Linked DNA regions of Homo sapiens: regions 1, 2, 3, 5 and 6 are each linked to region 4. The links are contacts of gene promoters, found by promoter capture Hi-C in blood cells and fetal thymus (Javierre and others, 2016). All regions are on one chromosome and are shown on one strand. The core of a region is centred on a gene start or on the middle of the fragment in contact, and the rest is flanking DNA. Distances in the headings are between cores, read along the strand shown. Region 1 holds the start of NTMT1 (N-terminal Xaa-Pro-Lys N-methyltransferase 1). Region 2 holds the start of ASB6 (ankyrin repeat and SOCS box containing 6). Region 3 overlaps USP20 (ubiquitin specific peptidase 20). Region 4 holds the start of CRAT (carnitine O-acetyltransferase). Region 5 has its middle 11 kb from the start of PRRX2-AS1. Region 6 has its middle 21 kb from the start of TOR1B.

Region 1 (4,621 bases), core at 1,816-4,315, 520 kb after region 4:
CGTGACAGCGTGTGCCTGTAGTCCCAGCTACTTGGGGGGCTGAGGTAGGAGAATTGCTTGAACCCGGGAGGCGGAGGTTGCAGTGAGCCGAGATCACGCCACTGCACTCCAGCCTGGGCAACAGAGTGAGACTCCATCTCCATAAAAAAAAAAAGAAAGAAAGAGCCGGGCACGGTGGCTCACGCCTGTAATCCCAGCACTTTGAGAGGACAAGGCGGGTGGATCATGAGGTCAGGAGATCGAGACCATCCTGGCTAACACGGTGAAACCCTGTCTCTACTAAAAATACAAAAAATTAGCTGGTTGTGGTGACGGGTACCTGTAATCCCAGCTACGCGGGAGGCTGAGGCAGGAGAATGGCGTGAACCCAGGAGGCGGAGCTTGCAGTGAGCGGAGATCGCGCCACTGCACTCCAGCCTGGGCGACAGAGCAAGATTCCATCTCAAAAAAAAAAAAAGAAGGAAGGAAGGAAGGAAGGAAGAAAAGAAATTAACAGACCCACTTTCAAGTCCATGGTCTGCTGTTTTGCTGTGTGATCCTGGAGAAGTGTCTTCTTTCTCAGGACTCCCTGGGCCTTATCTCTGAGTCTTGGCTGGGAGAGGGCCGAGAGGAAGCTCATAGTATTGTGAAGCTGGGGTGGGAGACAGAGGTCATTTACATGAGTATTTCACTGGCGTGGCATAGTTTCATAATTTGAAAATGAAGAAACGACTTTGTAATTCAAATAACAGAGTGACTCACTAGAGAACGCGTCGCCAAAGATATATTCTATTTTCTGTCAATGCTTCTCACCAGGGATGGAGGGACATACTTTCCTGGAGAGCTACAATATTGAGTGGGGGAGGGAGATATTTTTGTATTTATTTAAAGGGTATGTGTCTTTTTTAATGGCTGCGAAACACCAGATTAACTAGACGGTTTCTTTTTTTCTTTTCTTTTCTTTTTTTTTTTTTTGGAGACGGAGTCGCGATCTCAGCTCACTGCAAGCTCCGCATCCTGGGTTCACCCCATTCTCCTGCCTCAGCCTCCCGAGTAGCTGGGATTACAGGTGCCCACCACCACGCCCGGCTAATTTTTTTGTATTTTTAGTAGAGACGGGGTTTCACCGTGTTAGCCAGGATGGTCTCGATCTCCTGCCCTTGTGATCCACCTGCCTCGGCCTCCCAAAGTGCTGAGATTACAGGCGTGAGCCACTGCGCCTGGCCTAACTAGATGGTTTCTAAGGAGCCCTCCAGCCCTTGCACTCTGCAAATATTTATCAAGGAACTACTATGTGCTAGGCTTGGGAATTCAGAGATGCCAGAGGCTTTGAGGTCAGGGAGCCGGCCAGTCCTGGGAAGGCCTTGGAGCGTGGCTGTGGGGAAGGGGCTTGCTCTTCTGTTGACAGGAAATAAGACAGGGCTGGATTTTTAGGCATACAGAGAGCTTGGATCAGAGCTGCCCCCTGGCGGAGGATTCCGGACACCCCCACCGATTGAAATTGCCCAGGATCAATCCCTTTGCTTAAAGACACAGAAAATGAAGCTTGGGAGAGGGGCTCAGACCAGGGGTAGCAGTTGTGACCTAGAATAGTCTAGAGGGTATGCCAAATAAGATGCACATACACACATCCTGCGGACTCAATGCAGAAGGGGCTTTTTAGCATCCCCTTTCTACCGTAGCTTTCAACACATTTAGAGCAAACACACTTTAAGCACCTTCTGTGTGCGTCGCCCAGAGGAAGGAACACCAGGATAGTATTATTATTATTTTATTTTTGAGACAGAGTTTCGTTCTTGTCACCCAGGCTGGAAAGCAATGGCGCGATCTAGGCTCATTGCAACTTCTGCCTCCTAGGTTCAGGCTATTCTCCTGCCTCAGCCTCAGAGTAGCTGGGACTACAGGCATGCACCACCATCCCTGGCTAATTTTGTATTTTTAGTAGAGACGGGGTTTTGCCATGTTGGCCAGGCTGGTCTCAAATTCCTGACCTCAGGTGATCCGCCTGCCTTGGCCTCCCAAAATGCTGGGATTAGAGTCGTGCACCACCGTGCCCTGCCAACACAAGGATATTATTAATAGTATAGGAAAAATGAACTTAAGATGGATATTGTCATTATAACAGCTTCCATTTCCTGAGAACCCACTGCAGGTGCTGAGCTGAAGGTCTGACGTGCAATGTCCCACAAGTTTAACCCTCTCAGAGCATCAGAAGTTGAGTAATTATTACGTTGCTCAACTTCCTCTTCTGACAGGAGACTGAAGCTCGGAAATGTTAACAGGCTCTACCCACCTGCAAGCTCCCGTTTCCATCACCGCTGCCTCGGAGATAGCTCCAGAATTTCTTTGCATGGGAGGAGCCTAGGGAAGGGCCACGCTTTTGGAATGGAAACGTCATGGGCTTGTTTTGCTCATTTCAGTGGGAATCCCATGGCACTGCCGAGAGTATTTCTTTTTATTTTATTTATTTTGGGGGGTCGGTATTATTTTAAGATGCTAATGGAGATGGGTGGATTTGAGGACCAATGGCTTTTTTTTCCCTTTTTACTCAAAGCCCGCACAACACACTCGTTTTTAGAAGTCCAGCCTGCAGCCTCCAAACGAACTGTTGTACGTGCTGGGGACGGGGAGAGGGCGACGCTGCGGCTCTTTTCCGTTCGGGAGGTCCTTCTAGATTCCCAAAAGTCAATTTAGTCAAGTTTTGAGCTGTAACCTGTGTTGGGCGCGGTGGCTCACGCATGTAATCCCAGCAGTCTGGAAGGCCGAGGTGGAAGCCTCGCTTGAGGCCAGGAGTTCAAGATCAGCCTGAGCAACAGGGTGAGACCCCGTCTCTAATTTTTTTTTTTTAAAGAAGTCAAATTAGGCCAGGTGCGGTGGCTCACGCCTATAATCCCAACACTTCGGAAGGCAGAGGCGGGCGGATCACTTGAAGTCAGGAGTTCGAGACCAGCCTGGCCAACATGGTGAAAACCCGTCTCTACTAAAAATACAAAAATTAGCTGGGTGTGGTAGCTCACGCCTGTAGTCCCAGGTACTCTGGAGGCTGACGCAGGAGAATCGCTGGAACCTGGGAGGCAGAGGTTGCGGTGAGCCGAGATCGCGCCACTGCACTCCAGCCTGCTTGACAGAGCAAGATTCTATCTCAAAAAAAAAAAAAAAAAAATTTAAATTATTTTTCAAAAGAAGTTAAGTTAAATCCGGAGCCCGCGCGGGGGAGGGGCGAGCTGAGCGAGGGGGTGGAGCCAGCCATGGGCCCGCCCCTAAACGCCCGGAAGTGACGTTGGCGGACAAAGGCAGCGCGCGCCGCGAGCTGTCGCGTCTGGTCGTGGTCTGGCGGAGCTGCGGTTGGCTTGTGGCGTCTCCGCCGCCGCCGCCCTCCCTTCCTCTTCCCCATCTTCTTCTCTCGGTCCCGGGAGCCCCCGCCCGGAGTGAGTAGCGCGAGGCGGTGCGAAGGGTAGGCAGCCGCTGGGAGAGGGGAGGCTGCGACCCCTAACTGTTTCGGCGCCCTGAGGTCCCGGGTCCCCGGCTCGTCACGTGACCCGGCGCGTGCGCGCGGGCCGGCACAGGCCTCACGTGCGCGTCCCCAAGAGGTCTACGGGCCGGACCTGGGCAGGGACTACGGAGCAGTCCATGGGTCGGGGTACAGGAGGAAAGTCAAGGCACTCAAAGCCCAGGCAGGGCACTCCCCCACCCCGGTCCCCAGACCGCAGCAAATCCCTTTCTCTGAGCCTGTTTCCCTTCCGAGAAACAGGGATATGGAGAGCGCCCACTTGGAGGATGGATGGGAGGAATCGGTAAAATCGGTAAAATGCCCAGTTCAGAGCCTGGCACAGTTAAGTGCCCGCTGCACAGAAGTTGCTGTCGTATTTAACCTTGGGTGCCACCCGAGCGCCAGCCCGACACAGGTGCAGCTCAAAAAAGACAGCCCGAGAGCCCTTGCGGCCAAGGTCAGCCTGTCTGCAGGGAGGCTGCCATATCGAAAAGCCCAGACTTTGCTGCGCACCAACTGTGTGATCTCTCCCTCTGGACTTTGGTTTCTCCTCTGTACTATAAGTGATTGCCACAACTGGTGTCAGAGGCCCTGACAGCGGGGAGGGACAGTGTAACCGGTGGTTGTGGTGTGTAGAATGATTGCCCAGTGAGATGGGATGAGCCTCTGGGAGGAACCAGGGCTGGTATAAGGAGCCTGGATTCCCTCCTTAATTCTGTTCTCGGCTTCCTGTTTGTATGTTTAAAGACACGTCACTTCCTTTAGTGTGCTGGTTTTTCTCTATGTAAACTGAGGACTGTGCGGGGGTTGGAAGGATGCATGGAGCGTTTTGGTGGAGGCCGGAAGCCCTAGGATCACAAGGATGGCATCTAAAAAATCTCGGTGGGGGTTCTGTGCTTATAGGCAGAGGAAGCTCACTCCCCACTCTGGCTGATTTGCAGAGCTGTTTGAGTCTGCTGGCTTGGCCGCCCAGCATACCAGTAACAGTCCCCTAGGTGTGTCCAATACAGCTTCTGTGGCATTCTAAGGCAGTTTTCCCATTTGATCCTCATAGTGGGCAGAGTTGACAAGAATCTCATTTGACAGAGATTTCTAAGCTCAAGAGAGAATATGTGCCCGGCACTGTGCAAAGCACTTTAAGCTTTTCATATG
Region 2 (4,333 bases), core at 537-3,036, 530 kb after region 4:
CCCGCAGGGGGTGGGAGGCCACCCAATGGGAGTTTCCTTAGTTGCAGCCACCCAGGAAATAAAGGGGGGGAAGTCACTCCTCAGAGGATGGTAGAAGCCAAGGCTGGGGACATGGGCGCCCACCCAGCGTCGGGCCGCGTTTAAGCCACCTGCCCACCCCCGGGGCTCTCGCTGACCTTCAAAGTTGAGATTGGCCCCATGCCGCAAGAGAACGTCGGCCGCCCGCGTCAGCCCCAGCTCAGCCATCTTGAGCAGGGCGTTGCTCACGCCTTCCTGGTAAAAGGGAGAGTGGGCTTTCCTCTCCAGCAGCTCAGTGAGAACAAGGATTCGGCTCTCCTCGCTGGCGACATAACTGGGCCTGGGACAGGAGAGAGGCTGAGGGTAGGCACAGCTGTGGGACCGGGTGACCGCGCAGCCTGTGGGTTGGTGGGCTTTAGTCCTGCTATCATCATCAGCAAGCAGGGCCCTGGCTCTGTGGGTCACAGGGGCTTGGGGGAAGCTCTGAAGTAGAGAGAGGGCCACGCTGCATCTCTTAATACGGGAGCAGACTGGGATTTGCGGAGAATGGGCTGGGTCTGTCTGCGCTCTCCTCCCGCGTTGCCCAGAGTCCGGTCGCAGACTTAGGTACAAAGCCTCACACACCTGGGCTGCTGGGACTGAAGGGACCACCAGCCTGGAGGCCAAGAGCCCAAGCCCGACTTTGATGCTTCTTCCTCAGAAAGCCCTTCCATCCTCAAACCCGCAGGACCCCAGCCCCGGCAACACCTGCAGCCAGGACAGCAACACAGCCTCCTCCCTCCCCTCACATTGAGACCTTCAGCTGATATTGATGAAGAAAGCCTACGTTTCCACCAGAGTCCCTGGATGGCGAGACTCATCATTACCACGTGTTGGAAATACCAACTGACAACCCCCTCAACACCTGAGCCGAGCCCCTTCCTTCTGCTCTCCCCTCCCTTCCACCTCGCGTGCCGCCGTACAATTACTTGTCAGTCTCTCCTCTGGAGCACATGCGCCAAGAAGGCGGGGGTTTTGCTGAGCCACTGATGGACCCCAGGTGCCTAGTACCATGGGCAGTGAATGCAGATTCGCTCCCGACCCCTTTCCTGCAGGTCCACGACAGACCAGCTCTTGTCTATAAAAACGCAAACTCTGCTACAAAAGCCCACCTTCACACTGCTCTGGGGTAACATCTGAGGCCTCACGGATTCCACCCTGCTCCTCTGCCACGCCGGGGGGTGGCACAGGACAGGCAGGCGACAGGGTGGGGCTGAGGCGCAGGCCCTGCGACAACCCGCGGGCCTCCGCCCTCGGGCCCTCCCCGCCCTTCGTCTCCGCCATGCAAGGGGCAGGAGTGGGATCCGCGCGGGGCAGCGCGCACTCCGAGCCACGCAACCCCGGCTTCCGCCCGTCCCTTCCTCTGTCAAGGGGGACGCATCCACCCCGCCCGGCTTGTGGTGATAAAGTGGGACGCTGCGGGGTCGGAGCGGCCTCGGCCAGCTCACGGGAGGGGGTGAGTTACCGGTCCAGAGACTCCTGCCGCTCGGGGTCCTGGATCCCCAGGGAGCCCAGAATCGCATCCACCAGCGGCTGGTACTCGAAGATGATCCTCCGGAAGCCGTGCAGGAACGGCATCGCCGCGGGCCCCGCGCAGCAGGGCCGTCGCGCTTTCTGCCGAGGCCGAGATGCCCAGACGCCGACCGGAACGCTCCGGCGGCCGCGGACCCCACCTGCTCCGCCAGTCCAGCCCCTGCGCCCGGCCGGGTCCGCTCCTCAGTCCAAGCCGCGCCCCCGCCGGAAGTGACCCTCGTACTTCCTGCCCGCGCCGACTCAGGGTGGGCCATATGGCGACAGCGCCCCCTGCGGGCTCGGAGGACCTCGGCGCGTCCTGGGGCACGACCGCCAGGCCGACTCGGGCGATGTCCAGTGGGCGGCCCCAGCGGAGTGGGAGAGTGGAGGATCGAGCCAAGCCAGATCCGAGACTCAGGCGGGTCCGCCCCTTCCTGCCAGGGCCCGGCCCGGCTCGGCTTCGCCCTGCGATCCCGCCCGCGACCGCTGGGCGCCGTCCGAGTTCCGCCGGTCGTGCTCTCGGCCCTGCCGCTGCCCCACTGGCCCTGGGCGCCCCTGAGAGCTGTGGTCATCAGACACTGCCCCTTCCGGTTCGGGCTGGCCCTCGCCTTCCCTGAAGAGGGGCTGGGCCACCTCTGTCACCACCCGGCCCGCTGACTGGAATGATGAGGACCAGGGTACTCGCACGTCCCCTCCTCAGTTTCTTATTCTCTGTCCCGGGGAGCACCTGGCCAGGACGGCTGCTAGCCCTCTCCACCTCTGCCTTGATGGACTCAGTGAATCTTGTTTTTTGTTGTTGTTGTTTTTGTTTTTTTGGGGGACGTAGTCTCGCTCTGTTGCCCAGGCTGGAGTGCAATGGCACGATCTCGGCTCACTGCAACCTCCGCCTCCCGGGTTCAAGCGATTCTCCTGCCTCAGCCTCCCGAGTAGCTGGGATTACAGGCGCTGGCCACCACGCCCAGCTTATTCTTGTATTTTTAGTAGAGACAGGGTTTCACCATATTGGCCAGGCTGGTCTCGAACTCCTGACCTCGTGATCCTCCCACCTCGGCCTCCCAAAGTGCTGGGATTACAGGCATGAGCCACGGTGCCCAGCCCGAATCTTGTGTATTTTTTAGAGACAGGGTCTCACTCTGTCTCCCAGGCTGGAGTGTAGTGTAGTGATCATGACTCACTGCAGCTTTGAACCCCTGGGCTCAGGTGATCCTCCCGCCTCAGCCTCCCGAGAAGCTGGGAACACAGGAGTGTGCTACCGCCTGTCTCTGAACTTGGATTTCCTCATCTGTAAAATGGGTAGAATCCCCAGCACTTTGAGAGGCCGAGGCAGGTGGATCACCTGAGGTCAGAAGTTCGAAGCTGCAGACCGGCCTGGCCAATATGATGAAACCCTGTCTCTACTAAAAATACAAAAATTACCCGGGCGTGGTGGCAGGCGCCTGTAATCCCAGCTACTTGGGAGGCTGAGGCAGGAGAATTGCTTGAACCCGGGAGGCGGAGGTTGCAGTGAGTGGAGATCGCACCATCACACTCCAGCCTGGGCAATAAGAACGAAACTCTGTCTCAAAAAGAAAAAAAAAAAGTATAATCACACTCACCTGAGATGCTGGAGCCAGCGCACTGTAATTGTTGGTGGAAGTGGAATTCAGTGGGAAGGAGCCAAAACCCTCTGGTTCAGGAAGAAGGGGCGGAGTGGGCAGCCGGGTTTAAGCCCCTTTAGGGCAACACCAGCTTGGGCTTCCTAGAAGCAGCTCCAGGCCGCAGAGTCCACAGCTGCCAGCACGTTTCTGCCTTGGTTCTCGCTGTAGGAAAGAAATTTCTCCCTGGGTGAAATCGGGAAATTCTGCTCACATGGAAATGGACATTTCCAGCTTGCCTTGGAAAAACCACTTTTCTGGAGTCGAGGCACCTCCCCTTGGGCCATGCATTTGAGCCTCCTCTCCCACCTGGAGTCTGCGTGGGGGGGCCTTGATGCCTTCTTGCTTCTGGGAAGCTGATGATGAAGAGGGGTTTCCCGCCCCAGCAGTCCACATCACAGCGTTGGCCTCCTGGGCCTTGCTCTGCCAAGTTGGGCCCCTCTCCCTGGAACCTGCCAGACAGCGAGAGTTGCCCAGCCCAGGAAAAAAACATTTAAAGGCGCATTTCAAGACAATCCGATGGGTCTTAGAGTAAACATTTTTATATTTATTTATTTATTATTATTATTATTATTATTTTTCAGACGGAGTCTCACTCTGTTGCCTAAGCTGGAGTGCAGTGGCAGGATCTCGGCTCACTGCAACCTCCAACCCCTGGGTTCAAGCCTACCAGGTAGCTGGAATTACAGGCATGCGCTACCACGCCAGGCTAATTTTTGTATTTTTAGTAGAGACGGGGTTTCACCATGTTGGCCAGGCTATTCTCGAACTCCTGACCTCAGGTGATCCACCCGCCTCAGCCTCCCAAAGTACTGGGCTTACAGACGTGAGCCCACCACGCCCAGCCAGATGAAACATTTTTAAATGGGCAGAGTAAGGCCCTCTACCATGTGCAAAACAAACTGTACAAGAAAACCCAAAGCAACGAGCCTCAACCGGCAAGGTTGAGGGTGTGGCAGCAGCGGCTGGTAACTGCTGGCTCTGGTTGTTAAAGCTGTTGTCAGATCCAATGACAGGCTCTCGGAAAACCACCTCCGACGCCAGGCATTCAGAGTGCCTCAGTTTGCTTCCTCTTCCATTACCTAAAGGAGTAGGAAGGAGGGGTGGGGGTGGGCAGCTGGGTTCAAGAC
Region 3 (4,401 bases), core at 906-3,405, 730 kb after region 4:
AGAGCTCAGAGCAAAGGGTAGTAGCAGGCTTTGAGCTGCAGGGAGATACTGTCATATCCTAGACTGAAGGAAGTTAAGCTGAGCAGAAAAATGCTCTGAAGAATGACTCAGAAGAGGCTCTTGTGAGGAAGCTTCCTTGGAGTACGCGTGTTTGGATTTGGGGAGGTGAAGGTCGTCCCCATGCCAGGCTGGCCGGGGCTGTTTGTGACATCGTGGAGCTGAGTGTTCAGAGCATGGGCTTCAGGGCAGGTAGTCGTGGGTTCGAATTTTGGTTCTGCAGCTCAGTAGCTGTGTGACCTTAGCCAGTTATTCCACTTCTCTGAGCCTCGGTGTCTCCATTGTTAGTGATGGAGATGGATTTAGTTTGGAACCTTGCCACCTCCCAGGGTGGTTGTGAGGGTCCAGTGAGGTCACATGTGAGAACACCAGACTAAGATGTTAGTGTCAGTTCCAATATTCAGGGCCGTGGGGCAGGGGGAAGGGCGATGAGGAGACACAGAAGTGTGTGGGCAGCAGAGACTGTGGAAGTGTGGAGGCATGGGGAGGCCTGAGGGCTCTGCTTCGAGAGTCAGAGGATGGTGGCCTCCGAGTGAGGACTGGGTTAAGGGAAGGGGTGGGTGTGTCTGGGACTTAGGGAGAATGCTGTTGTGTGGAGGTAGAGTAAAGACAGCAGGAGGGAGAGAAAGGGTGTGCGAGGGCCAGAGGGGACTGTGGAGGGGGTGGGCACACACCCTGTGCGGGGCTGGGGGTGTGAGATGGCTAATGTGGTTGGGGTCAGCGTGGGCAGGGCTGTGGGCATCGTTGTGTGGGTGGGAGGCCCAGAAGTGTCGCCCTCCCCATCCTGAGGGACTGGTTCCTCGCTGGGAGGAGGAGGATGTAGCCAGAACCTCTGGGAAAACAATGAGTAACAGGCACCAGAGGCAGCCAGGTCCAGATGTGCTGCCTACCTAGGACCACAGGCTGTGCTGGCTGGTCCCTCCCCTGCCCTTCCTCAGGCCTTGCCCCTCCACTTTGCCCCTGTGGGTGGAGTGGCACTTTCCCCCACCCTGGAGGCCCAGGGAAGGAAAGCTGCCTTTATGAGCCTGAAGCATCTTGGAGGTCTCCTGGGGCCAGCAATGGTGGGCTCTTTGCCAAAAGTCTCAGGCCTTCCTCCCCCCATCCTGTGCTCTCCTGCCCCAAGAGAGGAGGCTCTGGTGGGCCGGGAGGGCGGGGCACACGCTGCACCTTGCTGACTTGTTGTACAGTAGGTCCTACTCTGCGTGGCTGCACCTGGAAGCACGTTCTTTCAGCTGCACAGGTGTCTTTCCCTTTTGGCCTTTATGAAATGCCTGCTGTGCACACTCCATATATTTGCACAGAGGCACAGGTGGGACGGAAAGAGTGGGGAAAGCAGACACAACCTGCTCGCTTCCTGCTGTGTTGCTTCCTGTCTGGGACCTTCCATTCCTCCTCTGTGAGATGAGAAACAGCCGCCCTTGCCCTAGAGAGTGGGTGAACAAAGCCCTGGGTACCAGGTCTGGAGGCTCAGTGGGTGCTGGGTCCTGGATCCTGCGATGGGGCTGCCTGTTCCAGAAAACCCGCTCCCTGCTCCCACCTCAAAGGTGAGAAAGGGAATCTATTTTTTTAAAAAGTCAAACTTAAGAAAAATTACAAGAATACAATGAACTCCCACATACCCCTCACCTAGATTCACGAATTAGTAACATTTGCCTTATTTACTCTAACTCTAATCTCTATAGTTATTGTCATAATTATTGCTGATTCAGGTAGGAGTAAGCTGCAGACATCACAGTCCTTTTCCCCTAAATATCCCAGCGGGAATTAACTAAGAATAAGGATATTATCATACATAACCAAAGCGTGAGTTCCACCTTTAGAAACTTTTTTTTTTTTTTTTTTTTTGAGATAGGGTCTTGCTCTTGTCACCCAGGCTGGAGTGCAGTGGCGCCATCTCAGCTCACTGCAACCTCCGCCTCCCAGGTTCAAGTGATTCTTCTACCTCAGCCTCCCGAGTAGCTGGGACTACAGGTGCCCACAACCATGCCCGGCTAATTTTTGTATTTTTAGTAGAGACGGGGTTTCACCACGTTGGCCAGGTTTGTCTCAAACTGCTGACCTCTGGTGATCCGCCAGCCTCAACCTCCCAAAGTGCTGGGATTACAGGCGTGAGCCATCACTCCCGGCCTAGAAACTTTCACATTGATGGAATCATGTATTTGTTTCCCAGACCTGCCATAACAAAGTACCACAGACTGGGTGGCTTAAACGACAGAGATTTATTTTCTCACAGTTCTGGAGGCTAGACGTCTCAGATCAAGGTGCCGACAGGTTTGGTTCTTCTGAAGGCCCTTTCCTTGGCCTGCAGATGGCCATCTTCTCACTGTGTCCTGGCTTGGTCTTTCCTCTGTGTGAGTCCGGATTTTCTCATCTCATAAAGATACCAGTAAGATTAGATTAGGGCCTGCCCTAAAGATCTTATTTTAACTTAATTACCTCTTTAAAGACATTATCTTCAAATATGATTACATTCTCAGGTCCTGGTGGTTAGAACTTCAGCATATGAATGGGGGAGAGAGAACAATTCAGTCCATAACAAATACTATGATCTAACAGGCAGTCCACACTCAGGCATGCTGGTTGTCCTGGGGATGTTCTTTGTGGCATCCCCCCACATTGACCCACAATCCAGCTTTGTTATGTCTCCTCAGTGTCTTGCCTGGAACAGTTTCTCAGCCTTGGTGGAGAAAGGGAACCTTCACGTTGCAGGGAAGCAAAGGTGCTCAGCAGGAATGGGGGTTCAGAAGCGCAGGCTGCCCCAGGACAGGGAAGCTGTTGAAGGGTTTGCTCTAGTCCATGAAGTTGCCTTTCCTGGCTTTTTCTTTGATGTCAAAAGCACCAGGAGGTGAGCTTAGATCTCAGGAAGCGCACCAAGAATCCGTGCATGAGTCCCCTGCGGTGTGTCTGACTCCATCACCATGGCGCCTGTTCGTTGCTGGGCTGGTTGGCCTGCAGAGCCCTGAGTGGTCTCATGGAGGGTGCCCTTCTGAGTGACCTTGAGCATGTGACTTCTATTCCTACCAATTTCAGTGTCCTAATGTATAGAACAGCCAGTGACACAAATTATAGTAGTAAACATTTTTTGAGCATTCTTGTCATGCAAATCAATAAAAAATCTGAGCCACCCAGAAAGTCCATGAGGCCCTAAGTCATTCAACTTAGCGTTTACTGTGCATTGGCTCACTTCATCTTCTCAGTAACCCTAGGTGCTGTCATTGTCCCCATTTTATGAATGTGGAGACTGAGCGATTTATCTAAAGTCACAGACTTGCAAGGGGCAGAGTGAGGTACTGAACCCAGGGCTACTTGTCCCTGTAATTTCCTTCCATAGTGACCGTTACCTCCCGGGATAATGTATGTGCAGCAGCTAACCCTCAGTGAGTGTAGGAAACAGAGGTGCTGGTGGTGATTATCACCTCCCTAGTGTCTGCTTGCAAGTACCCTGAGGTTGAAGTATGGGACTCTGTACACTACAAGAGCAGGGCCTATGCCTGGCTGTTTCCCAGCACCCCAAGTCACTGTTCCTAAGGAGGTACATGGTCAGTGTTGGTTGGGTACCAAAAGGAAGCAAAATGATAACTTTCAGACAGCTGAGATATGCACCCTCTTGTCGACCCCCATGCTTCCGATATTTTAGGTCCTGTGTGTGGAAGTTTTTTTTTTTTTTTTTAGACGGAGTCTTACTCTGTTGCCCAGGCTGGAGTGCAATGGCGTGATCTCGGCTCACTGCAACCTCTGCCTCCTGGGTTCAAGCGATTCTCCTGCCTCAGCCTCCTGAGTAGCTGGGCTTACAGGCATGTGCCACCACACCTGGCTAATTTTTTGTATTTTTAGTAGAGATGGGATTTCACCATGTTGGTCAGGCTGGTTTCGAACTCCTGACCTTGTGATCCACCCTCCTTAGCCTCCCAAAGTGCTGGGATTACAGCTGTGAGCCACCGCACCTGGCCCTTTGTGTGGAATATTAAGCACCCAGTGTTTTCTGTACTACCGCCCTTTTTCCTTCATAGAAATGATTTTTAACCATTAATTTTTAAAATGTTAGTAAACCTTAAACTTTTTATGTTGCACATACTCATATACTGCTGATAGGCAGATAAATGTATATACTGTTTCTAAAGGGAAGCTTATCAATATCTATGTAGAGCCTTCAAAGCACACATTTTGACCAATAATTTTTTTTTTTTTTTTTGGTCAAAGATGTAGGCCGGGCATGGTGGCGTACACCTGTACTCCCAGCACTTTGGGAGGCCGCAGTGGACAGATCACTTGAGGTCAGGAGTTCGAGACCACCCTGGCCAACGTGGTGAAACCTCGTCTCTACTAAAAATACAAAAATTATGT
Region 4 (4,428 bases), core at 1,060-3,559:
CAGGTTGAGAAACAGAAGGGAAGAAGAGAGAATCACAGAGAGCCAGACAATGGCAGCACCTTCGGGTGAGGGGCCTTGGGCTTCCTCCTGCCTTTGAGATGGGGCAGGGGTGGGGTGAGGGCAGTGCTGTGGCGAGAGAGCCGGGTGGCCTGGCATGGAGGGTGAGAGGCGGCAGAGAGAGAAAGAGAAAGTCCAGGAGGCCCTGGAGTGGGCAGAGACAGGAGGGCCCGAGGCTGCTCTTGCAGTGGGCAGGCGAGTGGCAGGAGCTCTGTTCCATACCTTCTCTCTCTGCTGCCCGTCCTCCTCCATGGCAGGACTGAGGTTCTGGGCCCTGTCTGTCTGCCTTGGCTGGATCTCTAAGCCTAACTGTGCTACAAAGTGAGTGAGCAGAACCTAGCCAGAGGCAGCCACTTGCCTGGGCTGGAAAGAGAAGACAAGAGCCAAGATTCAGCGGGAGGCAGGTGGCAGTGGCGATGGCTGTGGTGGAATCGGGGGTTGTGGCAGTGGCAGGGGAAGCTCCTGGACTCTAGAAGCTGCTCCACCCTCCCGAGCTCCCAGAAGTAGAGGAATGGGGAGCAGGTGAGAGGGCTAGTGGGGGGGCATTCCAGTAGAAGGGAACCTGGAAAGTTCTTTCCTTTCTTCTCTGCATGGGCTCAGTGCCAGGGAGTCAGGACAAAAGGTAATAAAAAATCCACCTGTCAGAATCTGCGAAGATCGTTTTGATGAGGGAAAACTTGGCTGGAGGACAGAGACTGCCTGGCCGCTGAGGTTACACCACAGCCCTGGGATCGGTCCTGAAATTAGGGTTGGTGCAAGGGAGCAGACACCAGGAAAAGGCCATCAGTGGATGGGACAGCCAGAAGCCCTGCCTATTTCCTGTTTCTCTCCAGGACTCCTGGGACCCATCTGAGCCATCCCTCTACGAACACTCATTTTTTCCTGAGCTGTGGCTCATTCAGCTAGGGTCCAAGAGCGGAGGACTTTTGGTATGAAAAATAAACCAAAGGACACTGGGATTGGGCTGGATTTGAATGAGCAGGTCCAGGGGACTCTGGGCAAGTCCCTCCTTGCCTCAGTTTCCCTGCAGGAAGGTAACCAGTCCAGTCGGATGGTCCTGGAGGATGATCTAGAGGCTGTTTGTGGGATGGATGCAGCTTGGGAGACAGTGACAAGGGTGCGGTGGAGGCTCAGGGTGTTGCAACACCTAAAAGAGCCTCTAGGCCTGAGCCTGGATGCACCCTCCGCCCTCTGGCCCCGTAGTGTGTGTCTGAGACAGAGTGAGACACCAGCAACATATGCTTGGATCAGGGACGGAAGGGACTGAAATTAGGCTAGCATCCGGGCTGCTCACCGGGGAGGACTGAGGGGTAGATATAGCCAGGGTGGGGAAGGGGGCTAGAGGGGAGGATATAGCCAGGGTGGGGAAGGGGGCTGGAGGGAAGGATACAGCCAGGGTGGGGAAGGGGGCTGGAGGGGAGGGAGACCATGGGGCTGCCACCTGCCAGTTCTGAGGCCTTTCTAGCTTGATGCCTCCGCGTGTTTCTCTGGCCACACACAATTCCCCAGGGACCGTCTGATAAACCAAAGGAGTGTGACCAACTGGACAGGGTCGGAGGAGTGGCTCTGGCCTAAGCGTGCGACGGGTGTGTCAATCGGAGAATAACTGGGAGAGTGAGCTAGGGTCTGGATGCTCCTGGTCTCTCTCCCCTACCGGCCTGTCTCTGGGTCTAAGGGTGGGGGTGCTAACTGAAGCCGGGGTCCCCCTTGTCTTTCCTGGGTCGTTGGAACTGAATGCTCCAGGACGTGGGTTTAATCCCGCTTCTGACCTTGCGCCCCAATCTCCTGCTCTGCCAAACCTGGGACGCCCGCCTGACCCCACCCCATCAGCTGGAGGCCGGGTCGAACAGCGGCCGCAGGACGCGGTCTCCGTTCCCGGACGCAACCGCACGGCCCGCCCAGGCCGTCCAGGGCCCTCAGGCCCGGGATCCGCCGCACTCACCACGGTCCTGGCAGCGAAGGCTAACATCTTCGCTGCCCGTCCGCGGACACGCAGTCCGCTCCGCCCCACACACCGGGCAAAGTCCGCGCCGCCGCCGCCGCGGCTGGGGTCGGTGGGTCCTTGCTAGAGCCTTCGGGCCAAGGTCGCTGAGTTACAGCCGCCAGCCGGTAGAGGCAGCCCCGCGCCCACCCTCTGGGCCGAGCGGGCTGCGGGAAGGCACCCGGGGAGGAGGACTCGCGAGGCGGGGCCTGGGCCGGTAGCGGGCCCCGGGCGGGCAACGGTGCCCGGGAGGTTGGCTGTGGGGCGGGGACGGGGCATCGATGGGGCGGAGTCTCCTTGAGGAGGGACAGGAGGGGCGGGGACGGAGGGGCGGGGCGTCGCCCGGTAGCGGGTCGCAGTAGGCTGGCTGCGAGTCGGGGGCGGGACCACGGCGGGCGGGGACAGAGGGGCAGGGCCGAGGGCGAGTCATTGAGACCTGTGGAGGAGGAAGGAGGAGGTCACCGTCCAGCTGTCTCTCCCCTGTCCCCACATGTCTTCTAAGCTGTTGGAGGTAGTGGTGTGCACCTTTCCAACTCCGTCTGGTGTCCTTGAGCCTAACTCTTAGAGTGATAGGAAAACACAACCATGTTGACCGGGGAATGTCCTCTAATATTCCTTGGGTTAGGGTCAGTACCACCCACAAAGATGACAGGTGGTACTCCGGGACAGGAGACTGTCCCGGAAAAACATGGCTGAGCACAACCCAAACTTGACGCCCCGCACAATCGTGGCAGTCGCGGCGCCCGACGTTCGGGCGGCCGTGAGCGGTCCTAGCGCTTGGCGGCCGTTGGCGCGCATGCGCCCCGCGCGCCCCGCACTGACATGGCCGTCGCCCGGTTCCGCGCGTCCGCCGCGCGCCGGCCGTTAATAGGCTTGCTCCCTGAGCGCCCCGCACCGACATGGCGGCCGTCTTCGCTGTGGTGACTTTAACTCTCGGTTTTCGGTTATAGCCGGCCGGCGCTCACTTGTCTTCAGGAAGCTCGGAGCCTTTGGTGGAGCCGGGGAGAGGAAGGGTGGGTGCAAGAGTGAAAGGCGAGAGGGGACTGCAAGCATCCGGGTCGGCTCCTGGCCGGAGCAAGATGGCTGAGGGCGAGCGGCAGCCGCCGCCAGGTAAGGCCGGCGGGGCCAGGCCGGGCCGGGGTCGGGTAGGGTGGGGGCGGTGCCAGGTGTGGGAGGCTCAGGAGGGCGAGAGTCATGACACGGAGGAACTGGAGGGGCAAAAGCTGAGGGGCCCCGAGGAGGGACTGAGTTGAATGGCCTTAGGGGAGAGGTGGGTGGTGGGGCGCCGCTGGGGAGGGAACCAGGGGCTGCAAAGGGGTGGTGATTGGGGCGCAACTCTGGGTTTTGTGGGAGTCCAGGCTGCCCGAATGCTGGGTGGGCAGCGCCGTGGTCATAAGGGGGCCTTTTGCATCTCTGGGCAGCGCGTGCTTAAGTAAGCTGCTGACTCGGTGGGGAAGCTGCCAGGGAGGGGGGCGAAAGTGATTCCGGAGGCTGCCGTCTTTATTAGTCGCTGCTTAGGGGATGGGGTGGTGCTCCGTGGGCCTGCGCCCGCCTCGCCTCCAGTTTCGGCCTCCGCGTCCTGCTCACCCCTCATCCTCCTACTCTCTGGTTCCAGTGCCTGAGAATTTATTGAGGGAAACTGCCCGTGGTGTCTAAATCCCTAATTTTAAAAGGCTGGTTGTGCAAGGAGGTTAGTCTCTCCGGCATCTCCTTCGGTAACTCTTATTTACCTTGTAGCCTCTTTTTAGTTCATCTTAAATAACTGGGATGGAGGTGCTACGGAAGGATCTTAGAGACCCTTTTTGTGCAGAAGGAGAAGGCTGTTTGCCGACCTACCTTGAACTAAGAAGGACTGGCCATAGATAACTTTTACATTCCCGACAGAGGCAAATAGGTTGGCCGACCAAACACAGCTAATGTTTTGAAAGCATTTGATATTCTTGCTATCCTGTCTCCAATGTTGGGGTCCCTGGGAAGGTCTCAGGAGGGAGAAATGTTGAAAATCAGAAAAGGCATCCCCTCCATGCCCCACAAAAGAGGTGAACAAAGAGCTGGGTTCCGTTTCTTAGGACATTCAAAACCAGACATTTATTTTGTACAAAACCTCTGGGTGTGTGCCCTTAGAACAAGGATGTCCAGGCCAGGCGCGGTGGCTCATGCCCGTAATCCCAGCACTTTGGGAGGCCGAGGCGGGCTGATCACCTGAGGTCGGGAGTTCGAGACCAGCCTGACCAACATGGAGAAACTCCGTCTCTTCTAAAAATACAAAATTAGCCGGGCGTGGTGACACACGCCCGTAATCCCAACTACTAGGGAGGATGAGGCAGGAGAATCGCTTGAACCTGGGAAGCAGAGGTTGCGGTGAGCTGAGATCGCGGCATTGCACTCCA
Region 5 (4,302 bases), core at 902-3,401, 620 kb after region 4:
GGGAAGCAATGTGCACATCAGTGTTTATCACATATTTTATACGTGCAATGTAAAAAATCTGGAAAGACACAAGCCAAAATGTGAGTAGCTTAATTTTTTTTTTTTTTTTTTTTTTGAGACTGAGTCTCACTCTGTCACCCAGGCTGGAGTATGGCACAACCTCGGCTCACTGCAACCTCCACCTCCCTGGTTCAATTGGTTCTACTGCCACAGGCTCTCGAGTAGCTGGGACTACAGGCCTGCGCCACTATACCCAACTAACTTTTTGTATTTTTAGTAGAGACAGGGTTTCACCATGTTGGCCAGGCTCGTCTCAAACTCCTGACCTCAGGCAATCCACCTGCCCGGGCCTCCCAAAGTGCTGGGATTATAGGGCTGAGCCGCTCTGCCAGGCCAATTAGCTTAAATTTTATGGTGACTCACAATCCACGAGTCTCCATATTTTTAAAATAACTTTATAGAAAAAACAATCTTTAAAAAGAAAGCAGGCCAATGTAACAGCCTCGAGTACATAATAAGGTCTTCAAAGGTTAAAAAAAAATGTGCTTTTGGCTGGGACTGGTGGCTCACACCTGTAATCCCAACACTTTGGGAGGCCGAGGCGGGCGGATAACGAGGTCAGGATTTTGAGACCAGCCTGGCCAGCATGGTGAAACCTCGTCTCTACTAAAAATACAAAAATTAGCCAGGCGTGGTGGCGCACACCTGTAGTCCCAGCTACTCAGGAGGCTGAGGCAGGAGAATTGCTTGAATCCGGGAGGCGGAGGTTGCAGTGAACTGAGATCATGCCACTGTACTCCAGCCTGGGTGACAGAGTGAGACTCCGTCTCAAAAAAAAAAAAAGTGCTTTCTTCCCTGTGTTTTGTGTCCCCCTGGTGCCTCACACAGAGCTAGATGTGTCCTCTGGATACTTGCTGGTCAGTGGAGGTACTGGAAACAGTGTGTTTGAGAACATCTGTCTCCCAGGCTGGAGTGCAGTGGTGAGATCCTTGCTCACTATAACCTCAAACTCTTGGACTCAAGTGATTCTCCCGCTCTGGCCTCTCCAACTGCTGGGATTACAGGTGTGAGCCACTGCGTAATGGCTCTCCAAGAACTTCTTAATTCTTAGTTCACACCTTAGAAAAAGTGGGAATGGATTGAGCTTGGGATATAAGGCAGTCAGGAATGAGCACCTTGAAATCAGAAGGGGGACTCAAAAGAGAGACGGTGTGGCAGATACAATTCTAACATGGCCCTGCCAGCCGGGCGCAGTGGCTCACACCTGTAATCCCAGCACTTTGGGAGGCCGAGGCAGGCAGATCACCTGAGGTCAGGAGTTTGAGACCAGCCTGGCCAACATGGCATCTCTACTAAAAATACAAAAAATTAGCCGGGCACAGTGGCGCACACCTGTAATCTCAGCACTTTGGGAGGCCAAGGCAGGCAGATCACCTGAGGTCAGGAGTTTGAGATCAGCCTGGCCAACATGGCATCTCTACTAAAAATACAAAAAATTAGCCAGGCGTGGTGGCACACACCTGTAATCCCAGCTACTCGATAGGCTGAGGCAGAAGAATCGCTTGAACCCGGGAGGTGGAGGTTGCAGTGAGCCAAGATCACACCACTGAACTCCAGCCTGCACTGCAGAGCAAGACTCCGTCTCAAAAAAAAAAAAAAAAAAAAAAGATGGCCCTGTGATTCCCACCCCAGGTAGTCCCACCTTTGTGTAATCCCTTCTCCTTGAGCGGAAACTGTGGCTTGTTTCTGACAAATAGAGTGCGGCAAAGGTGAAAGGATTTTTCAGATGTAATTAAGGTCTCCACTCAGTTGACGCTGATGTAAGCAAAAGGAAGATTCTCCCTGGTGGGCCTGACCTAATCAGGCGAGCCTTTTGAAAGATCCAGGTTGTCCCTGAAAGAAGAGATTCCAAGCAGACAGCCACTTTCCTGCTGAGCTGGAAGACGCAAACAGCTATGCTGTGAAGTGCCTGCGGAGGGGGAGGCCGCCAGGAGCTGAGGGCTTCAGTTTCAGAACCACAAGGAGCCCAATTCTGCCTACAATTCAAACAAGCTTAGAAGAAGACACTGAGCTTCAAGTGAGACTCAGCCTGGATGACACCTCGATTGCAGCCCTGGGAGGTCCTGAGCACAGCACCAAGCTGAGCCTCGCCCAGACTCCTGACCTACAGGAACTGTATGATCGTAAGCGTGTATAGTTTTAAACTGGCAACTTGTTACACAGCCATAAAAAACTAACACAGGTGGGAATGAAGCTTGAAAGTTTACCTTGGCTGGTGCGGTAGCTCACACCTGTAATCCCAGCACTTTGGGAGGCCGAGACGGGAGTATCACCTGAGGGTCAGGAGTTGGAGACCAGCCTGGCCAATAAGGTGAAACCCCGTCTCTACTAAAAATACAAAAATTGGCCAGGCGTGGTGGTGCACACCTGTAATCCCAGCTTCTCCAGAGGCTGAGACAGGAGAATTGCTTGAACCCGGGGGGGCAGAGGTTATAGTGAGCCGAGATTGCCCCATTGCATTCTTGCCTGGGCGACAGAGCAAGACTCTGTCTCCCCCCCGCAAAAAAAAAAAAAAAAAAAAGAAAGAAAGAAAAGAAAGTTCACCTTGAGCTTGGCCTCCCTTGGCCCACGGGACACCCAGGGAACCCCCAGACCTGCCACAGAGCAGACTGGATGGTAGGCCCCTGCTCTAATTACCTGCCAGTCCACAGTAAACAGCCTCTTGTCTTATTTATCTCCTTCCTGGCCATTCTGCACAGTCAACAGGCCAGTTGTCTAAAACACAGCCTTGATCACGGATCATGTCTCTTCCCTGCCTAGAGCCTCCCTTGGCTCCCCAGGGCCCTTGCAGCAAAGATCAATCACCCAGGCCAGGTGTCTACAGTGCCACCATCCAACCTTAACCCCGCCTCGTCCCTACCCAGATTTTTTTTTTTTTTTGAGACAGAGTTTCGCTCTTGTCACCCAGGCTGGAGTGCAATGGCACAATCTCGGCTCACTGCAATCGCCACCTCCCAAGTTCAAGCGATTGTCCTGCCTCAGCCTCCTGAGTAGCTGGGACTACAGGCACCTGCCACCACGCCTGATTCATTTTGTATTTTTAGTAGGGACAAGGTTTCACCATGTTGGCCAGGCTGGTCACAAACTCCTGGCCTCAGGTGATCCGCCCGCCTCAGCCTCCCAAAGTGCTGGGATTACAGGCGTGAGCTGCTGCACCTGGCCAGATTCTTCAGACAATCCTAACAATTCGGTCCCCTCTTTCCATTGTATCCCTCCTCCCTGTCTCCCTGTAGCAACAGCTTCCCATCCAACCCCTTTGCCAGCAAAAATCCACTCCAATGAGGTTACAATGTAGTGTCACCTTTTAAATTTTTTTTTATTTATTATTATTATTATTTTGAGACATGGCCTCACTCTGTCACCCAGGCTGAAGTGCAGTGGCATGATCTGGGCTCACTGCAACCTCCGCCTCCTGCCTCAGCCTCGCAAGTACCTGGGACTACAGGCATGCGCCACCACACCCAGCTAATTTTTGTATTTATTTTTCGAGATGGGGTTTCACTATGTTGCCCAGTCTGGTTTCGAACTCCAGTCTCAAATGATCCACCCACCTGGGCCTCCCAAAGTGCTGGGATTACAGGCGTGAGCCACTGCGCCTGGCCAAGTTCAATTCTGGACAGTCAGCAAACATAATAAAAAATATATATAACTCCGTGTTATAATTTTATATTTGGAAAATGGAAAAAAAAAGCCCTAGTTTCATAATTCAAACTTCTAAAAGTGAAGCTACTCAAACTCTTCTTGGCTGGTGTAGATACTGAGGGGGCAGCCACCGTCAGCTGGGTGGCCTCAAACCTGCATCTCTAGGGACCATCACAATAACATCATCAAAAGGGGCTTAGAGGTGGAGAAACACTGCCTACCTCCCAGGCTCACTCTCTCTTTTAGATATATATATCCACATATATCCATATGACATTATATATGTTTAACATGCATAGTAAAAGAATCTGGAAAGTCATAAACGATAATGTGACCAGTGACTTTTTACAGGGAGGTGGGATTCTGGGTGGTCCCTATTCTTTATATATATACTTGTAAATTTCTCTACTTAGGTACTAAAAATTGACAACACTCTAAAAAATCCTGTCCAAATTGGAACCATCTTTTTGGAGGACAATATGTACTACACGTCCCAAACAGACATGCCTTTTTGACCCAGCAGTTTTACTTCTAGAAACATATTTTAGGAGGGGCACAGTGGCTCACGCCTGTAATCCCAGCACTTTGGGAGGCTGAGGC
Region 6 (4,168 bases), core at 1,519-4,018, 670 kb after region 4:
GAATCTCGAACCCAGGAGGCAGAAGTTGCAGTGAGCTGAGATTGCACCATTGCACTCCAGCCTGGAGGACACCACCTCTCTCCATAAAATGTGGGCAGTGGCACCTAGCAGAACGTTCTGAGGATTAAATGAGATTCAGGGTGCACTGCACTTTCCCCAGGCGCCTGGCCTGTGCAAGTTTTCACATGGGCTAGCAATGTTCATTAACCTGGATTCAATTCAGTCTGGGTTCTGGCTTCCCAAGACAACGAAATGCAAGGTTTAATCCTTGATTAGATCTTGAATTTAAAAAACAAAACAGGTTGGGCGTGGTGGCTCACGCCTGTAATCCCAGCACTTTGGGAGGCCTAGGCACGTGGATTACCTGAAGTCAGGAGTTGGAGACCAGCCTGGCCAACATGGCGAAACCCTGTCTCTACTAAAAATACAAAAATTAGCTAGGCATGGTGGCAGGTGCCTGTAATCCCAGCTACTCGAGAGGCTGAGGCAGGAGAATTGTTTGAACCTGGGAGGCGGAGGTTGCAGTGAGCTGAGATTGCGCCACTGCACTCCAGTCTGGGTGACAGAATGAGATCCCATCTCGAAAAAGAAATGAAAAGCAAAGCAAGACGGTATGGGTATTGTGGTTTTGGAAGAGCTCTCCTTAATCTTAGGAGATACATGATGAAGGGTGTAGGGGTGACATTTAAAAATGTCTGCAAAGTGCTTTGAAATAGGTCAGTTAAAAAAAACAAAAAAGAGAGGCCAGGTGTGGTGTGGCTCACACCTGTAATACGAGCACTTTGGGAGGCCAAGGTGGGAGGATCACTTGAGCCCAAGAGTTTAAGACCAGCCTGGTCAACATAATGAGACCAAACTCTAGAAAAAATGCAAAAATTAGTTGGGTGTGGTGTTGCATGCCTGTAGTCTCAGCTACTTGGGAGGCTGAGGTGGGAGGAACGCTTGAGCCTAGGAGGTTGAGGCTGCAGTGTACAAAGATTCCGCCACTGTACCCCAGCCTAGACAACAGAGCAGGACGCTGTCTCAGAAAGAGAGATCATATTGGGATGATGAAAATATTTTAAAACTGACTTATGTTGGTGGTTACACCATAGTAGGTTGGTAAATTGACTATGATGATGTGGTAAAATCCCTAAATTGCACACTTAAAAGGGTAAATTATGATATGGAAAATATGCCTCAATAATGCTACTTGAGACATTCACTGGATTAGACCAAATTGACCGATTTATTTATTTATTTAAGACGGAGTCTCTGTCACTCAGGCTGGAGTGCAACGGTGTGATCTCAGCTCGCTGCAACCTTCGCCTTCTGGGTTCAAGAGATTCTCCTGCCTCAGCCTCTCGAGTAGCTGGATTACAGGCTCATGCTACTATGACCACTTAATTTTTGTATTTTTAGTAGAGATGGGGTTTCATCGTGTTGGCCAGGCTGGTCCTGAACTCCTGACCTCAAGTGATCTGCCCACCTTGGCCTCTCAAAGTGCTGGGATTATAGGTGTAAGCAACCATGCCCCGCCTATTCTTTTTTCTTTTTTTCTTTTTTCTTTTTCTTTTTTTTTTTTTTTTTTGAGACAAAGTCTCACTCTGTCACCCAGGTTGTAGAGCAGTGGCATGATCTCAGCTCACTGCAGCCTTGGTCTCCCAGGCTCAAGTAATCCTCCCATCTCAGCCTCCTGAGTAGCCTGGGACTACATCCTGAGTAGCTGGGACTACGGACACACCACCATGCCCAGCTACTTTTTAAATTTTTCATAGAGACAGGGTCTCACTATGTTGTCCTGGGTAGTCTCAAACTCCTGGACTCAAGTGATACTCCCACCTCGGCCTCCCAAAGTGCTGGGATTACAAGAATGAGCCACCACGCCCAGCCCTGATTTTTTTGTTGTTGTTCATTCCAAACAATTTTAAGTTTATCCCTGTGCTGGCCCTGGGATATGAGCGAGATAACCACCACCCCTTCCCAGAGGAATGCACAGCCCAGTCTAGGCAGAGCAAATACATGGTGAGGATTCTAGGGCCAAGAAGAGGGCAGGGATAAGATCACATGAGCTTAAGTTATGGGGCCCTGCGTGCCTGCTGGAGATAGGATAGTGTTCTCACTCTGTTGCCCAGGGTGGGTGCAGTAGTGCGGTCACAGCTCACTGCACCCTTGAACTCCTGGGCTCAAAGGATCCTCCCACCTTAGCCTCCCAAATAGCTGGGACTACAGGCTAGGTAATGTTATTATCATCCCTACTTTACAGATCAGAAAACCGAAGCCTAGAAAGGCTAAGACCATCACCCAGGGTCACAGAGCTGATCAGGAGCAGAGCCAGAAGATGGACTCAGGGCCTTTATGCCAAAGCCCAGGCATTCAGACTAACACGAATCATTCCAGCCTCCAGAAGGTGCACACGCCTCTGGTTGGTTCAGTGAACAGGGGTGGAATGATATCAATCAGACAAAGGGAAAGGGTCTGGGCATGGCGGTTCACATCTGTAATCCCAGCACTTCGGGAGGCCGAGGTGGGTGGATCACCTGACCTCAGAAGTTTGAGACCAGCCTGGTCAACATGGTGAAACCCCGTCTCTACTAAAAAATACAAAAATTAGCTGGGCGTGGTGTCATGCGCCTGTAATTCCAGCTACTTGAGAGGCTGAGGCAGGAGAATCGTTTGAACCCTGGAGGCTGAGGTTGCAGTGAGCCGAGATCACGCCACTGCACTCCAGCCTGGGCGACAGAGCGAGACTCCATCTCAAAAACAAAACAAAACAAAACAAAAAACCCAAAGGGATAGAAACTGGAATTTCCCTGAACCCCTGTTGGCATCTGTTTTAATGCTTAACAACTGCATCTCGGGTAACTTAGGAGACTAGAAAATAGGTATTTTGGCCGGGTGCGGTGGCTCACGCCTGTAATCCCAGCACTTTGGGAGGCCGAGGCGGGCGGATCACGAGGTCAGGAGATCGAGACCATCCTGGCTAACACGGTGAAACCCCGTCTCTACTAAAAATACAAAAAATTAGCCAGGCATGGTGGTGGGTGCCTGTAGTTCCAGCTACTCGGGAGGCTGAGGCAGGAGAATGGCGAGAACCCGGGAGGTGGAGCTTACAGTGAGCCAAGATTGCGCCACTGCACTCCAGCCTGGGCAGCAGAGCGAGACTCTGTCTCAAAAAAAAAAAAAAAAAAGGAAAAAAAAAAGAAAATAGGTACTTTACCAATACCTGTGAATGGTATTGAATGATATTGCTACTTTAACTAGGGGTTCTTTTGTTACCTGACTCCTGTTTTTCTTTTTCATTTTCTTTTTTTCAAGACAGTTTCACTCTGTTGTCCAGGCTGGAGTGGCACGATTGTGGATCACTGCAGCCTCAAACTCCTGGGTTCAAATGAATCTTCTGCCTCAGCCTCCAGAGTAGCTGGGACTACAGGCACCATGCCACCAGGCCCAGGTAATATTTTATTTTTTGTAGAGACAGGGGTCTTGCTATGTTGCCCAGGCTGGTCTCGAACTCCTGGACTCAAGCAATATGCCCTCCTCAGCCCCACAAAGTGCTGGGATTACCGGCGTGAGCCACCGCACCCAGCTGTGACTGCTGTTTTTCTACCTTTACCTGTCTCTCATGTTCTCAAGTAAATTATCATCCTCTGTTTCTTGCAAAAACTGATTCTTCCTTGTGTCAAGTTGCTAGAAGGATCCCACAGCCCTCCCTCGGGTCTCCCCATTTCTAACCCGTAGTACTGGCCCCATCTAGTGGTTAGATTAGGGAAGTACCCCAGGCTCCCTCGGCCAAGCCCCTGGCGAGGCACGGTTGGGGAGAAATGGATGCTTTCTAGCCCTTCTCTCACCGGCAAAAATAGCAACACTCTTCAGGTTACCAAAGGCCAGATTCTCCTGATGTGTGTAAGCTATCCCTCTAGAGACCATCTTAACTTTTTCATTTAATTATCAACTATTTCATCAAAGATAGAGGAGAGAACATACTCTCCACCCAGATTTAGCAGAGATTACATTTTGCATTTTACTATATTTGCTTCAAATCTCTTTTTTTTTTTTTTTTTTGAGAGAGGGTCTCGCTTTATTGCCCAGGATGGAGTGCAGTGGTGCCATCACAGCTCACTGCAACCTCAACCTCCCGGGCTCAAGCAGTCCTCCCACCTCAACTTCCCGAGTAGCTGGGACTATA

What was found. Contacts are between HindIII fragments. The CHiCAGO score rates a contact against its expected background, and 5 or more counts as called.
Region 1: a contact is called between a fragment that was not itself captured here and the fragment with the promoter of CRAT in region 4, in 17 of 17 cell types (M0 macrophages, naive CD8 T cells, M2 macrophages and 14 more). The highest score is 16.7, in M0 macrophages.
Region 2: a contact is called between the fragment with the promoter of ASB6 here and the fragment with the promoter of CRAT in region 4, in 2 of 17 cell types (neutrophils and monocytes). The highest score is 6.1, in neutrophils.
Region 3: a fragment that was not itself captured here is called in contact with the fragment with the promoter of CRAT in region 4 in 1 of 17 cell types (naive B cells); the score reaches 5.1 in naive B cells.
Region 5: a contact is called between a fragment that was not itself captured here and the fragment with the promoter of CRAT in region 4, in 5 of 17 cell types (M1 macrophages, activated CD4 T cells, M0 macrophages and 2 more). The highest score is 7.7, in M1 macrophages.
Region 6: a contact is called between a fragment that was not itself captured here and the fragment with the promoter of CRAT in region 4, in 5 of 17 cell types (naive B cells, total B cells, naive CD4 T cells and 2 more). The highest score is 6.1, in naive B cells.

What each region holds. Positions count from the first base shown.
Region 1 is chr9:129,622,889-129,627,509 of GRCh38, forward strand. NTMT1 (N-terminal Xaa-Pro-Lys N-methyltransferase 1) reads left to right here and starts at 3,275. Exons shown (of 4, transcript NM_014064.4): 1 at 3,275-3,407. RefSeq lists enhancers at 1,196-1,335, 1,346-1,395, 3,248-3,786 and a silencer at 3,400-3,639. The HindIII fragment of the contact is 3,086 bases long and covers 1,523-4,608 here.
Region 2 is chr9:129,640,365-129,644,697 of GRCh38, forward strand. ASB6 (ankyrin repeat and SOCS box containing 6) reads right to left here and starts at 1,787. Exons shown (of 6, transcript NM_017873.4): 1 at 1,523-1,787; 2 at 177-358. The coding sequence starts at 1,635. RefSeq lists enhancers at 1-290, 291-847 and a silencer at 1,554-2,153. The HindIII fragment of the contact is 16,646 bases long and covers 1-4,333 here.
Region 3 is chr9:129,838,886-129,843,286 of GRCh38, forward strand. The region is part of intron 1 of USP20 (ubiquitin specific peptidase 20); the gene reads left to right. Among named protein-coding and RNA genes, the nearest start is that of USP20, 5.6 kb to the left of the region's middle. RefSeq lists an enhancer at 516-1,016. The HindIII fragment of the contact is 4,052 bases long and covers 130-4,181 here.
Region 4 is chr9:129,108,484-129,112,911 of GRCh38, forward strand. It overlaps CRAT (carnitine O-acetyltransferase), which reads right to left and starts at 2,310. Exons shown (of 14, transcript NM_000755.5): 1 at 2,000-2,310. The coding sequence starts at 2,026. It overlaps PTPA (protein phosphatase 2 phosphatase activator), which reads left to right and starts at 2,932. Exons shown (of 10, transcript NM_178000.3): 1 at 2,932-3,148. The coding sequence starts at 3,118. RefSeq lists silencers at 2,066-2,505, 3,196-3,245 and enhancers at 2,916-3,195, 3,128-3,668. The HindIII fragment of the contact is 8,818 bases long and covers 1-4,428 here.
Region 5 is chr9:129,727,083-129,731,384 of GRCh38, forward strand. No RefSeq gene overlaps it. Among named protein-coding and RNA genes, the nearest start is that of PRRX2-AS1, 11 kb to the left of the region's middle. The HindIII fragment of the contact is 202 bases long and covers 2,051-2,252 here.
Region 6 is chr9:129,780,207-129,784,374 of GRCh38, forward strand. No RefSeq gene overlaps it. Among named protein-coding and RNA genes, the nearest start is that of TOR1B, 21 kb to the right of the region's middle. RefSeq lists an enhancer at 1,488-1,988. The HindIII fragment of the contact is 8,751 bases long and covers 1-4,168 here.